Linked DNA regions of Homo sapiens: region 1 is linked to region 2. The links are contacts of gene promoters, found by promoter capture Hi-C in blood cells and fetal thymus (Javierre and others, 2016). All regions are on one chromosome and are shown on one strand. Each heading gives the region's core, a stretch centred on a gene start or on the middle of the fragment in contact. The rest is flanking DNA. Distances are from core to core; before and after follow the strand shown. Region 1 overlaps ZNF268 (zinc finger protein 268). Region 2 holds the start of ZNF891 (zinc finger protein 891).

Region 1 (6,029 bases), core at 48-2,547, 84 kb after region 2:
ATAGGCATGATCATAACTCACTGCAGCCCCAACCTCCTGGGCTCAAGGGATCCTTCCACCTCAGCCTCCTGGGTAGCTGGAACTACAGGTGCCACTACACCCAAATAGTTTTTTGGTTTTTTTGAAATGGAGTTTCACTCTGTCACCCAGGCTGGAGTGCAGTGGCACCATTTCAGCTCACTGCAACCTCCGCCTCCTAGGTTTAAGTGATTCTCCTTCCTCGGCCTCCTGAGTAGCTGGGATTACAGGCATGTGCCACCATGTATGGCTATTTTTTGTATTTTTAGTAGAGACAGGGTTTCACCATGTTGGCCAGGCCAGGCTAGTCTCAAACTCCTGTCCTCAAGTGATCCACTTACCTTGGCCTCCCAAAGTGCTGGGATTACAGGCTTGAACCACTGCACTTGGCCTCCATATTTTTTATAATAGCCACTCTAACATGTATGAAATGGTATCTCATTGTGGTTTTGATTTTCCTTTACCTAATGGCTAGTGATGTTGAAAATCTTTTCATGTACTTCTTGGCACTGGATTTGGCAATGATTTATTGGATATGACACCAGAAGCATGGGAAACAAAAGAAAAAATAGGTAAATTGGACTTCACCAAAATTGAAAACTTTCGGCATCAGTGGACACTATCAAGAAAGTGAAAAGGAGCTGGGTGTGGTGGCTCACGCCTGTAATTCCAGCACTTTGGGAGGCCAAGGTGGGAGGATCACTTGAGGTCAGGAGTGCGAGACCAGCCTGGTTAACTTGGTGAAACCACGTCTCTACTAAAAATAAAAAAAAAGAGAAAAAAAAAAGCCGGGTGTGGTGGCATGTGCCTGTAATCCCAGCAACTCAGGAAGCTGAGGCAGGAGGATCGCTTGAAGCTGTGAGGTGGAGGTTGCAGTGAGCCGAGATCATGCTACTGCACTCCAGCCCAGGTGACAGAGCAAGAAAGCAAAATTCCATCTCAAAAAAAAAAAAAAGGCCGGGTGTGGTGGCTCACGCCTGTAATCCTAGCACTTTGGGAGGCTGAGGCAGGTGGATCACGAGGTCAGGAGATCGAAACCATCCTGGCTAATGTGGTGAAACCCTGTCTCTACAAAAAAATACAAAAAATTAGCCAGGCTGGTAGTGGAAGCCTGTAGTCCCAGCTACTTGGGAGGCTGAGGAAGGAGAATGGCGTGAACCTGGAACCAGTGAGCCCAGATCTCACCACTGCACTCCAGCCTGGGCGACAGAGCGAGACTCCGTCTCAAAAAAAAAAAAGGTGAATATAGGAGAAAAGACACTGTAAAATAATATACCTGATAAGGGTCTAGTATCCAGAACATATAAAGAACTCTTACAACCCAACAACAAAAAGACAACCCAATATCAAAATGGGCAGAGGACTTGAAGAGACTTTTCTGTAAAGAAGATATGCAAATAGCATATGAAACGATACTCAACATCACTAGCCATCATGGAAATATAAATCAAAAATACAATGAGATAACACTCCATACCCATCAGAATGTCTTATTATTTTAAAAACAAACCAGAAACAAGTATTGACAAAGAAGTGGAGAAATGTGAACACCGCTGTAAAATGGTAAAGCTGCTATGACTGACCCTTGCTACAACGTGGAGGAACCTCAGAAACATTGTGCTGAGAACCCAGCACAAGGCCACACACCTGTAATCCCAGCTACTCGGGAGGCTGAGGTGGGAGGGTCGCTTGAGCCTGGGAGTTCAAGTCCAGTCTGGGCAGCATAGCAAGACTCCATGTCTACAAAGATAAAAATAAAAGCAATGTGCAGAAAGAGGCTGGCCACAAAAAGGTCACATACTGTATGATACCACTTATATGAAATACCCAGAATGGGTAAATCCAAAGAGAGCATATTGGTGGTTGTCAAGGGTCGGAGGGAGGATGAAATGTGTGACAGCTGCTTAATGGATGGAGGATTTCCTTTGGGGTGATGAAACTATTTTGGAACTAAGAGGTGGTGGCTGCACAATGTTGTGCATGGACTAAATGTCACAGAAATGTACATTTTTAAAAGTTAATTTTATATTGTGTAAATTTTACCTCAATAAAAAAATCTAGTCCACAGCATTCCCTCACCAGGGTCAGCCCTCTTAGCCTCACATTTAAGTCCCTCCATAGCCCAGTGCTGCCTGGGCCTGGCCAACCACATTCCAGACATGTGCTCCAGCCACACCATCTGCCAGCTCCTAAACCCATGGCTGTTTCATCATTCCAGGTCCAGGTCACCTTCTGATGCCTTCACAGACACTAAGTGATCAGCAGTGCCTCCTTAGGGCACACAGGGTCTTTTGAAACTTGCATTGCTGGAATTCATAGCTCGGCACGTGGTATCCAAGGGTTGTCCCATTTCAATAAGGAGAAATCAGTGTTTTCTGACCATCACCATGCAGCTATCTTGCTCAGGTGACTCACAGCTATCTGCTAGGTATGGCTAGTTCCTTGTGCAGAGGGGAGGGCCAGGCTCAGGTGATTGAATGATTCACCTGCAATCACACAGCCTCCAAGTGAGGTTCACACTCAGGTTCCAGCCCAGAACCTCGTTTCCAGGTGCCACTCAAAGTTTGTGAGTCACATGAACCTGTGTCCAGGCCACACAGCAGAGGTAACCCAGCTGTGGGGGCACTTGTCTGGTCATGAGATGGCCCAAGTCCCACGTGAAGCCTCATGAGCCACACAGACCCTATCATAAATACACCAGCCTGGGGCTCCCCAGAGGCCAGCTCCAGGAAGTGGAATCATGCTAGTATTGTAATATTTAGTTAGAACTGAGGCCACCTGCAACTCGCTGCCATCTACACCGCTTCCACTCTCTGGTTGCTAACGATCAATGCTAGGGCCTGCCTCAACCCTGATGATTCAGCTCCACTGAAGCTCCCCAGAAACCTCCGGGGCTCTGCAGGCAAGCAGAGTGGGAGGGATGTTATCTGAGTCAGAAGGGGCTTTTGCCTTTGGAGGCCTGGGACTGTACGACTTTCTGCCCAGGTCACAGGAGGTATGGGAGCCCCCATGAGAGGTCCCTTGCTGTGGTTCACCGTCCAGAGAAGGACCAGCCTCTGGTTTTTCCTGCCTTCAAAACACCAGCACCTCAACCCCAGAACAGTCTGGATCCAGCCCTTACTGGGCAAGGGATCCCAATGCCAGCCCCAAACCCAGCAGTTAGGCCCTCCTGTGAACTGCCTGGAGCACCAGGTACAAGGATGGGGCACCCTGGGAGGGGCCATGATTACTTGGCACCAGCAGGGATATGGTGATCACCAGCAGAGACAGAGACACTGCTGGGGTTGAATTATATCCCCCAAATTCATATGTTCAAGTACTGACCCCCAGTAGCTGTGAATGCGGCCTTATATGGAAATAGGGTCTTTGCAGATGATAAATGTGAGATGAAGTAATTAAAGCCAGCCTTAATCCACTATGATTGTGTCCTTATAAAAAGGGGGAATTTGGACACAGACATGCATACAGGGAGGAAGGCTACTGAAGACTGAAGCTTCAATGTCACAAGCCAAGAAACAAGTAGAACTGGGGAGAGGCCTGGGGGCAATCCTTTCCACTCTTCAGAAAGAGCATGACTCAGTCTCCTGGATTTCCCAACTCGGAGACAACAAATCGTTGCTCTAAGCCTCTCAGTTTGTGGTGCTTTGTTACAGCAGCCCTAGGAAAGGAACACAGGCATGCTCCATCCACCACTCTCTCCAGACCACAGCTGCCTCCCAAGCCCACCCGAGAGGGTGAGTCAGGGAAGTAGGGCTCTTCATGGGCCACCACTGCTATTGGGTGGTCATTTCCACTCTGTCTGGAAGTCCTGGTCTCAGTTCTCAGTCTCCTGGTGCTGTTTTAGGCTCTACCTTGCTGTCCCTGGGGCTGCACCTGAGCCTCCACCCCTGTCCCTGGGGCTGTCCTGAGCTTCTACCTTGCTGTCACTGGAGCTGCCCTGAGCCCCCACCTCGCTGTCCCTGGAGTCCAGAAAGCCCAGGGCTGGCCAAACCCCACCCCTCATACCTCTCTTGGCCCCTCCTCCCAGCCATCAATCCACTGGAACAGCCATTATGTCCCTTCATTCTCTAGACAGGTGCCTCAGGAAGGCACAGAAAGGGGTCACACCACTTGGTCATGGTGCCTTACCTGTGTCCACTGGACTCAGGCTGGTCCTTTAATGGGATGAGGGCAGAACAGGCTGTGGGGCCACATCCCATTGTCAGAGAGGCCAGGGATAAAGCCAGAAAGGAGACAGGGGAAGGAAGGGCCTGTGGGCAGCAGTTCCTCCTCATAGGTGCTGAACAGAGAAAGTGAGGAGCCTCCAGCCTCCATCCTGGCAGGACCATCAACCACTGGTAGAGATCCCCTTTTGGGAGGTCCAGTCCTAGCCAAGGGCCAGCTCCAGAGACTTTGGTCCATTTTCTCTAGAATGGACATGATACAGCTGTCTGAGTCAGGACTCTAGAATGTTCAGGACTGAGCCCTGCTGAGGACAAGAGGGAACAACATGCCATGGAGATCCTTGTGCAGCCTGGGCCTCTGACTGTGACCAGCTAGCACCCAGTGCCTCTTTGCTGGGTCTCTGGGCCCTGCTGGTTGCAGGAAAGGCCTCAGCCCAGGGATGGGATGGGCCCAGGCTCTGCGTGTTTCCTGGGAGGGCCAAAGGGTGGTGCCTCCCATAGCAGCCCAAAGCACAGTAGTCACTGCTGCTGCTTCTGCCCTGAGTCTGGGGGAGCCGGCATGTGGGGAACATGGGGGCTGGTTCTCCTGCGACAGGGAGGCAAGCAGCTGTGCCCTCCACTCCACACCACCCTGTTGGCAGCACATCCTTCAAGCTCAGGGTTGCTGGGAAGCTGGTCCCAGTGCCCTCCTGCTTCTCCTCCAGGCCTGGGGATTGCCAGGGATGCATGGGGCCACAGGTGAGCAATGCAATGGTTGCCAGACACCAAGGCTCCTGTTCTCTTTGCCACACTACCCCATTCCCTCCCTATCACAATGCTCTTCTGCAACCTCCGTCAAGATTCTCCTGTTCTCCCGACCCCCACCGTCAGATCTCCCAGCTATGGCTCCTCCTTCTGTTCCACCCATGACCCCACAGGAAGGTTGGTATTTGTGCCTTTGCCTCTCACAGAGCAGCTTGGGAGCTCCTGAGAGCAGGGCCAGAGTCTGACTTCTCTGGGTTAAGGGCTACTGATCTCAGCCCAGACCACATGTGGCTCTCCCCTGAGATGGGCACGTGGCCAGGTGAGCACAAGGTCACAGACACTCCAAAATCCACAGTCCACACCTAGGGCTACCATAATCGACCCAGAAATTCAGCTTCCAGGAATTTATCCTAATAATAGCCAGGTGAAGGGCAAAGGGCAGAGGGCAGGGTTGCCCACGCTAATGCTGCATATAAAACAGACACACTGGAAACTGTCCAGATGTCCATCTGTCGGGCACTGCTGCATGATTAATGTACACCCACATCATGAAACACTGGCCCCGGGTGGAAAGGCTGATGTTCATCTCTGTACTTTGACATGGACAGATGCCCAGGATACATGGTTAAGTGAATACAAGGGGGGAGTTCAAAACATTAAACTTTAATTGACTACAACATTTGTGTCATAGACACAGTGAATTACAACCTGGAGGGAAAATCCACCCTACTCTGCCCTGCCTAGGCCATTCGCAGACAGGTTTGCCTCCCAGTACTCAAGGGAGAAGCCCCTACACACAGAAATCTCAGAACACTCCTCATACCTCACTCAGTTAACTTGGTGGAAAAGTCTGGCTGTGTGCACGGGCAGACGGCAAGGCAGCCAGCAGCAGAACACTCCCCTCTCTAGAATGGCCTTCTCTGCACGAGTGCCCCGGAGCCCGACTGATCCAGTGCTGCGTGAGTGGGACAGACCCACCTTTGACTTCTGATCTCACGAACATTTCTCAAATGCTTTCTCTACTACAGGGAATTGCTAACCAAACTATTCAAACATGGCAGTGGGAAAGAATCTCTGCTTTTCAGCAGAGCCCCCAGGGGAACT
Region 2 (5,660 bases), core at 1,560-4,059:
TCCTATCTAGCTTCACTGGCTTTCAAAATTCTAATGGAAAGTAATTTCCTATTGAGATGTGTATACTCGGTGAAAACACCACACAAATGTGAGGAAAAAGTAATTTCTAATCATTTCTACAACTTTAATATATGTAGATCATATGGACCCTTTCTTCAAGGCAGTTAAGATTACAATCCACCAAACAGGAATAGAAGTGCTTTACAGGAAACAGGAGATTTAACACAGAGGTGAGATGAGGAAATTGATGAGGGCAAAAGGGAAGCCCAGTGGTATGCCAGCGTGCTGCATGCCTACAGAGTAACTGATCAATCTACATTGCAGGGGGATGTCCAGGAAAGGAGAAAAGTGATAAGACTGTATGACAGATTAGCCCTTGAGGAAAATGGAACCAAAAGACATTTTACATAGATTTAAGAAAAACTAAGCAAATGAATAAAAAAGGCAGTCATTAAAAACAAGAAAGGTAAACCTTGCACAAGAAAGAAACATATTATGGCTCAGTACTAAAGAGTAGTCATCAAATGAAAACACTGAACATATTTATCCAAAATTTGTGGGAGAACTACATTATAATATTTGTAAAATAATTACATTGTGATTTAAGGATGTAGAAAGAAGGCAGCCAAAGTTCTTATTTAACATGATAAAAATTTTAAAATAATGTCACAAATCGGTGAATAAAAAAATACTGAGAGGAGTTCGAAGCCAGAACTGCTTAAATATTTCCAAGTGGTTGCCACTGGGAAGAGATGGGGTTAAGGTGTTTCCTGTTTTTATTATGAGTCTTTTAACATATTCAGCTCTTAAAAATGTACACACACATTTCTTGGAGCACAAATAAAGAGTAGTAAATTAATTACCCAGTCAAATCAAGAAGCAGATGGCCAGGCACGGTGGCTCACGCCTGTAATCCTAGCACTTTGGGAGGCCAAGGCGGGCGGATTGCCTGAGCTGAAGAGTTCGAGACCAGCCTGGGCAACACCGTGAAACCCCGTCTCTACTAAAAAATACAAAAAATTAACCGGGCATGGCAGTGTGCGCCTGTGATCCCAGCTATTCCAGAGGCTGAGGCAGGAGAATGGCTTGAACCCGGGATGTGGAAGTTGCAGTGAGCAGAGATCCTGCCATTGCATTCCCGCCTGGGCGAGAGAGAGAGACTCTGTCTCAAAAACAAACAAACAAACAAAAACAAAAATTAGCTGGATTAGCCGGGCGTGGTGGGGCCTGAGGCAGGAGAATCGCTTGAATCCGGGTGGTAGAGGCTACAGTGAGCCGAGATCACGCCACTGCACTCCAGCCTGGAGACAGAGTGAAACTCTGTCTCGAAAAAAAAAAAAAAGTAGAAAAACAGAGACAAAGTAAAAGAAAAATTTAAAAATTAAGAGCAAAACTTACTGTAATAGGACCCCCCTCCCCAAAAAAGACCAAAACAAAACAACAAAAAAACCAAAACCAAATCTACATTTTTGAAAAGACTATGTACACATATACCTTATAGGAGTAATCAAGAAAAAAAGGCCTAGATAATTAGGTTCAAAAAAGAAAAAAATAACAATTACAGCAGTAAAATATTAAAAAGTGGTGATTTTAAAAATCACCATAGAAATTACTTACAGTGATAAAATAGCATGGGCAATTTTATGCCAATAAATTTGAAAAATTAGATTAAAAACAATTATCTAGGAAAGGTATCTAAAACAGAATACGAACTAAAAAACCTAATCAATGAGACTTTTTAAAAAATTGAGTCAGGGCCGGGTGCGGTGGCTCACGCTTGTAATCTCAGCGCTTTGGGAGGCCGAGGCAGGCTGATCACCTGAGGTCGGGAGTTCCAGACCAGCCTGACCAACATGGAGAAACCCCATCTCCACTAAAAATACAGAATTAGCTGGGCGTGGTGGCTCATGTCTGTAATCCCGGCAACTCACAAGACTGAGGCAGAAGAATCACTTGAACCCGGGAGGCGGAGGTTGCTGTGAGCCAAGATGGCGCCATTGCACTCCAGCCTGGGCAACAAAGAGCGAAACTCTGTCTCAAAAAAAAAAAAAAAAAAAATTGAGTCAGAAGTTAAATGCGTACTAAATATTTTAAGACCAAATAGCACCAAACTTTTGGAGGCGGGCGGGGGGCGGTGAGGGGTGGTGACCTGTTTTACAGAATAGAAGAGAGACTGTGCTGTCCAAATTATTCATGAAGCTTGTAAAATCTTGTTAGTATAACGGGCAAGGATAGTACACAAAAAGATTAAAACACAATCTTGTGAGCATAGGTGAAGTCAAAGGGAAACAGCCAATTGAATACACCAGAGTATTAAAGAAATAAAACCATATCGCATTCAACCACAGTATAAGGCAATAGGTGAAAAAAACGATGGCTGTGATTCAACTCATTACTAGGTTTAGAGATTCAAGAGAGGCTGCTGGACAGAGGCGTGCACCCTTTAGCCCTCCCGTGTTGCTTAGAGAAGGAGGCAAACGCGCATCCCCGGCCCCCCAGCGCTCCCTGCGTGGCACCCGCAGCCAGCCCGGGACCCCTCCGCCCCGCGCGCCCCTGGTCCCCACTCGCTCCCCGCGCTCCACTCGCACCCGGTAAGTAGCCCCTCCTCCCTCAAGGGCCTCTCCCACCGCCGCCTCCCGGGCAGGCTCCCTGCTGCTCAGACTCCCGTGAGGCGATCCCTGCACGCAGGAGAACTCAGCGGGCCAGGCTGATCCCACGAGGGACTTGTCCCGGGTGAACGAGCCACAGGCCCGCATGCTCACCCGTCCTCAGTGCCTGCCTCCAGGCGTCCGCGGTCCCGCCCGAGGGGGACGCGAGGCCGAACTACGTTTCCCAGGAGCTCCTGCGCCGCCCCGCAGAGGGGCCTGGTCTGTGCGTCACGGACGCGCTCTGGGCCGAAGGCCCGCAGGGTCCGGCACAGAGTGGCGGCTGCGGCGCCGGCGACGAATCGCCGGCTCTAGGGTCCCGGGGCGCGCGGCTGACGGGCTGGGGGCGGAGCGTGGCCTGAACGCCAGGCTGGGGCGCGTGCGTAACGGTGTGTGTTGTGGGTGCGTGTGCGTGCGTTCGCAGCAGGGGCGGGCGTAGGACCAATGGGGGCGGGGCGCGTGCGCGTGCGTGACGTCAGGCCACGGGGAGGTGGCGCCGCCGTGCCGAGCCGGCCTCAGACTCACCTCTGACGCCGCTCTTCGCGCTCCGCTGGTGAATGGAGTCGCGTTCTCTGTTTTGCTGTTGCTGCTGCCTTTGTGACGGGATCGCTTTCTCCCATCGAACCTTCTAGTTGCTTATTGCAGGTATATACGAAAGTGCTGAATTTTGTGTTTGCATCGTCATCAGGCGCGTGTTGAGCCCTTTAGTAATGTAGCAGTGTATTAGCTTCGTATTTCTAGGTAGACGGTAATTTCGTCAATGAAAAAATTTAACGGTGATCGTCACCCCTTGCCTCAGTCACTTTCTGTCCCTCGCGCGGCCCCGGCGTTCACGGCGGACGTTCTTGTTCTGTGGAGAATAACGGCTGCACCTGGAGATTGACGCAGAGTGGGCGGCGGTGGTGGTAAGTTTGAACCAGATATTTTCAGTAATACAAAATAAGGTTTCTTCTAGTCTAACTTCCATTTTTCCCCCCAGCTGGGATAGATGTTTAAAATTTTGCATATGGCCTTTCTAGTATTTGTTGAAATAGTGACGCCGATTCGTGTGTGGTCTTTTAAAAACAAATCCTGCATCTCTAGCTCTTAGCTTCCTCATCTTTGTTTTGTTTTTTAATCAGATAGATTAACTGAAGGCGTGTTTGTGTGGTTAATCTATTTTTTTTATTTTCAGAGACAGATCATAAGTTTAATTACTATATTTTTATTTTCCCTTGACACTAGATATATATACGCCATCTAACACATAATATGAGTGTCAAAGATAAGGTTAACATCAAGATTTCGTACGTAGATCCCACCCAAAGTGTATGCAGAAGGTGAACAATTTCAATTCCAGCTATACATTAATTGCAGAAAGATACTGTTAATTAAAAAAAAAAAAGTAAAAGGGAAGGCAGGATGTCACCCAGAATGCCAGCCAACAAGTGTTATTAGGTTAGAAATGACTGCAGTTAGGTCTCCGAGAACTGGATAGCACAAATCCTCCCTACCCTTTTGAAAATTACCTCCACACTAACTTTTCTCTTGTGACATAACTAATCTCTTCTGTTTTACTAAAATTGTCCCCCATCTTCCAAAGCCTCTTGGATGGTAAGTTGCACACGCTCCTGCCTCTTTTTGAAAGTTACATTTGTTTTTTGATTACTTCTCTCAGCATGCATTTCTTTAGCTCTTAGTATATGCTAGTCACAAGGGCAGAGATTTGAGATACACATCATAAATTAAATGAGAATTTCTGCTTATCAGTATTTTATATAAGCACTGTCTGGAAATTCTACTTAGGACAATATTTAAGTAGATATGAGGCTTACCTTCTGGAAAAGAGATTACAAAATTATCCTTGTTAATTAATTAACTAATTAAGTCCCCAAAATGAGAAGAGATTCAATTACTATCAATAATTTGTAGTAAAGTGACTGAAAAGGAAATATATAAGCTAATAGATTGATTGCCGTCCTCAACAAGTTAGCACATACTTTTATTTTTAAAAAGTCTTCACAATAGGAAGAAAATAATTTTAGCTAGAAATATATGTGAACTATATGAGAAAAACTTCAAAACCTTACTAGGCAATTCTTACTAGAAGAATAAAGGATGAGTAAGAATAAAAACAGTTCTGTTTATAGATTATATTCAATTGTCAAGAAAATCTGAGAATTTTTTTTTTTTTTTTTGAGATAGAGTTTTGTTCTTGTTGCCCATGCTGGAGTGCAATGGCTCGATCTTGGCTCACTGCAACCTCTGCCTCCTGGGTTCAAGCAATTCTCCTGCCTCAACCTCCCTAGTAGCTGGGATTACAGGCGCCAGCCACCATGCCCAGCTAATTAACATATGCCAGTCACAAGGGCAGAGATTTGAGATACACATCTTAAATTAACAAGAGCAACAAGAGCGAAACTCCGTCTCAAAAAAAAAGTATTTTAAGGAAAAAGAAATTTCTTATTGTTAATATCTCTGTTGTGCCTACAAGAGACTCTTTTACTTTCATCAGCAGTACTCTTTCTAGCATGTCTCATGTCAGCCAGGGCTTTTAATTCTTCTGGCTATGAAGCAAGGTTGGGACAAGATATGATATAGGCCACCTTTGTCTGTGTATGTGCCTCTTTGACTCGTAATGAACATCCAAGAGCATTATTTTTTCCTCTTTCCACACAATATCTCCTTGCTGACTGATCCTAACATTTCCTGTTCAAAATTTTATTATGAAGAATTTTGAGCATACAGCTAAATTAAAAGAAGTTTACAGTGAATACTTATAAACCTTCCCATCTAGACTCTACCATTAATATTTTACTGTACCTAATTTTAACACATACCCATCTGTCCCTCTTTTTATCCATCAGTTCATTGTATTTTTAAATTTTTTTCAAAGTAAATTGACATGGGTACGTATTCCTTAAAAATTTCAGAATACGTATGTATTATTAATTAGAATTCTATATTTGTTTAGATTTTTCTTTAGATGTAAAATTTACATAACATGAAAAGCGCAAATCTTAAGTGTACATTTGC

What was found. The method cuts DNA at HindIII sites, captures the fragments that hold promoters and counts their contacts. A CHiCAGO score of 5 or more calls a contact.
Region 1: a fragment that was not itself captured here is called in contact with the fragment with the promoter of ZNF891 in region 2 in 2 of 17 cell types (M1 macrophages and total CD4 T cells); the score reaches 5.8 in M1 macrophages.

What each region holds. Positions count from the first base shown.
Region 1 is chr12:133,212,745-133,218,773 of GRCh38, forward strand. ZNF268 (zinc finger protein 268) reads left to right here. Exons shown (of 6, transcript NM_003415.3): 6 at 1-2,088. It overlaps ANHX (anomalous homeobox), which reads right to left. Exons shown (of 10, transcript NM_001372060.1): 10 at 5,568-6,029. Among named protein-coding and RNA genes, the nearest start is that of ANHX, 20 kb to the right of the region's middle. The HindIII fragment of the contact is 4,424 bases long and covers 1-3,509 here.
Region 2 is chr12:133,127,465-133,133,124 of GRCh38, forward strand. It overlaps ZNF891 (zinc finger protein 891), which reads right to left and starts at 2,810. Exons shown (of 2, transcript NM_001277291.2): 1 at 2,763-2,810. ZNF10 (zinc finger protein 10) reads left to right here and starts at 3,163. Exons shown (of 5, transcript NM_015394.5): 1 at 3,163-3,290. RefSeq lists silencers at 2,426-2,605, 2,976-3,215 and enhancers at 3,266-3,545, 4,628-4,797. The HindIII fragment of the contact is 7,004 bases long and covers 2,198-5,660 here.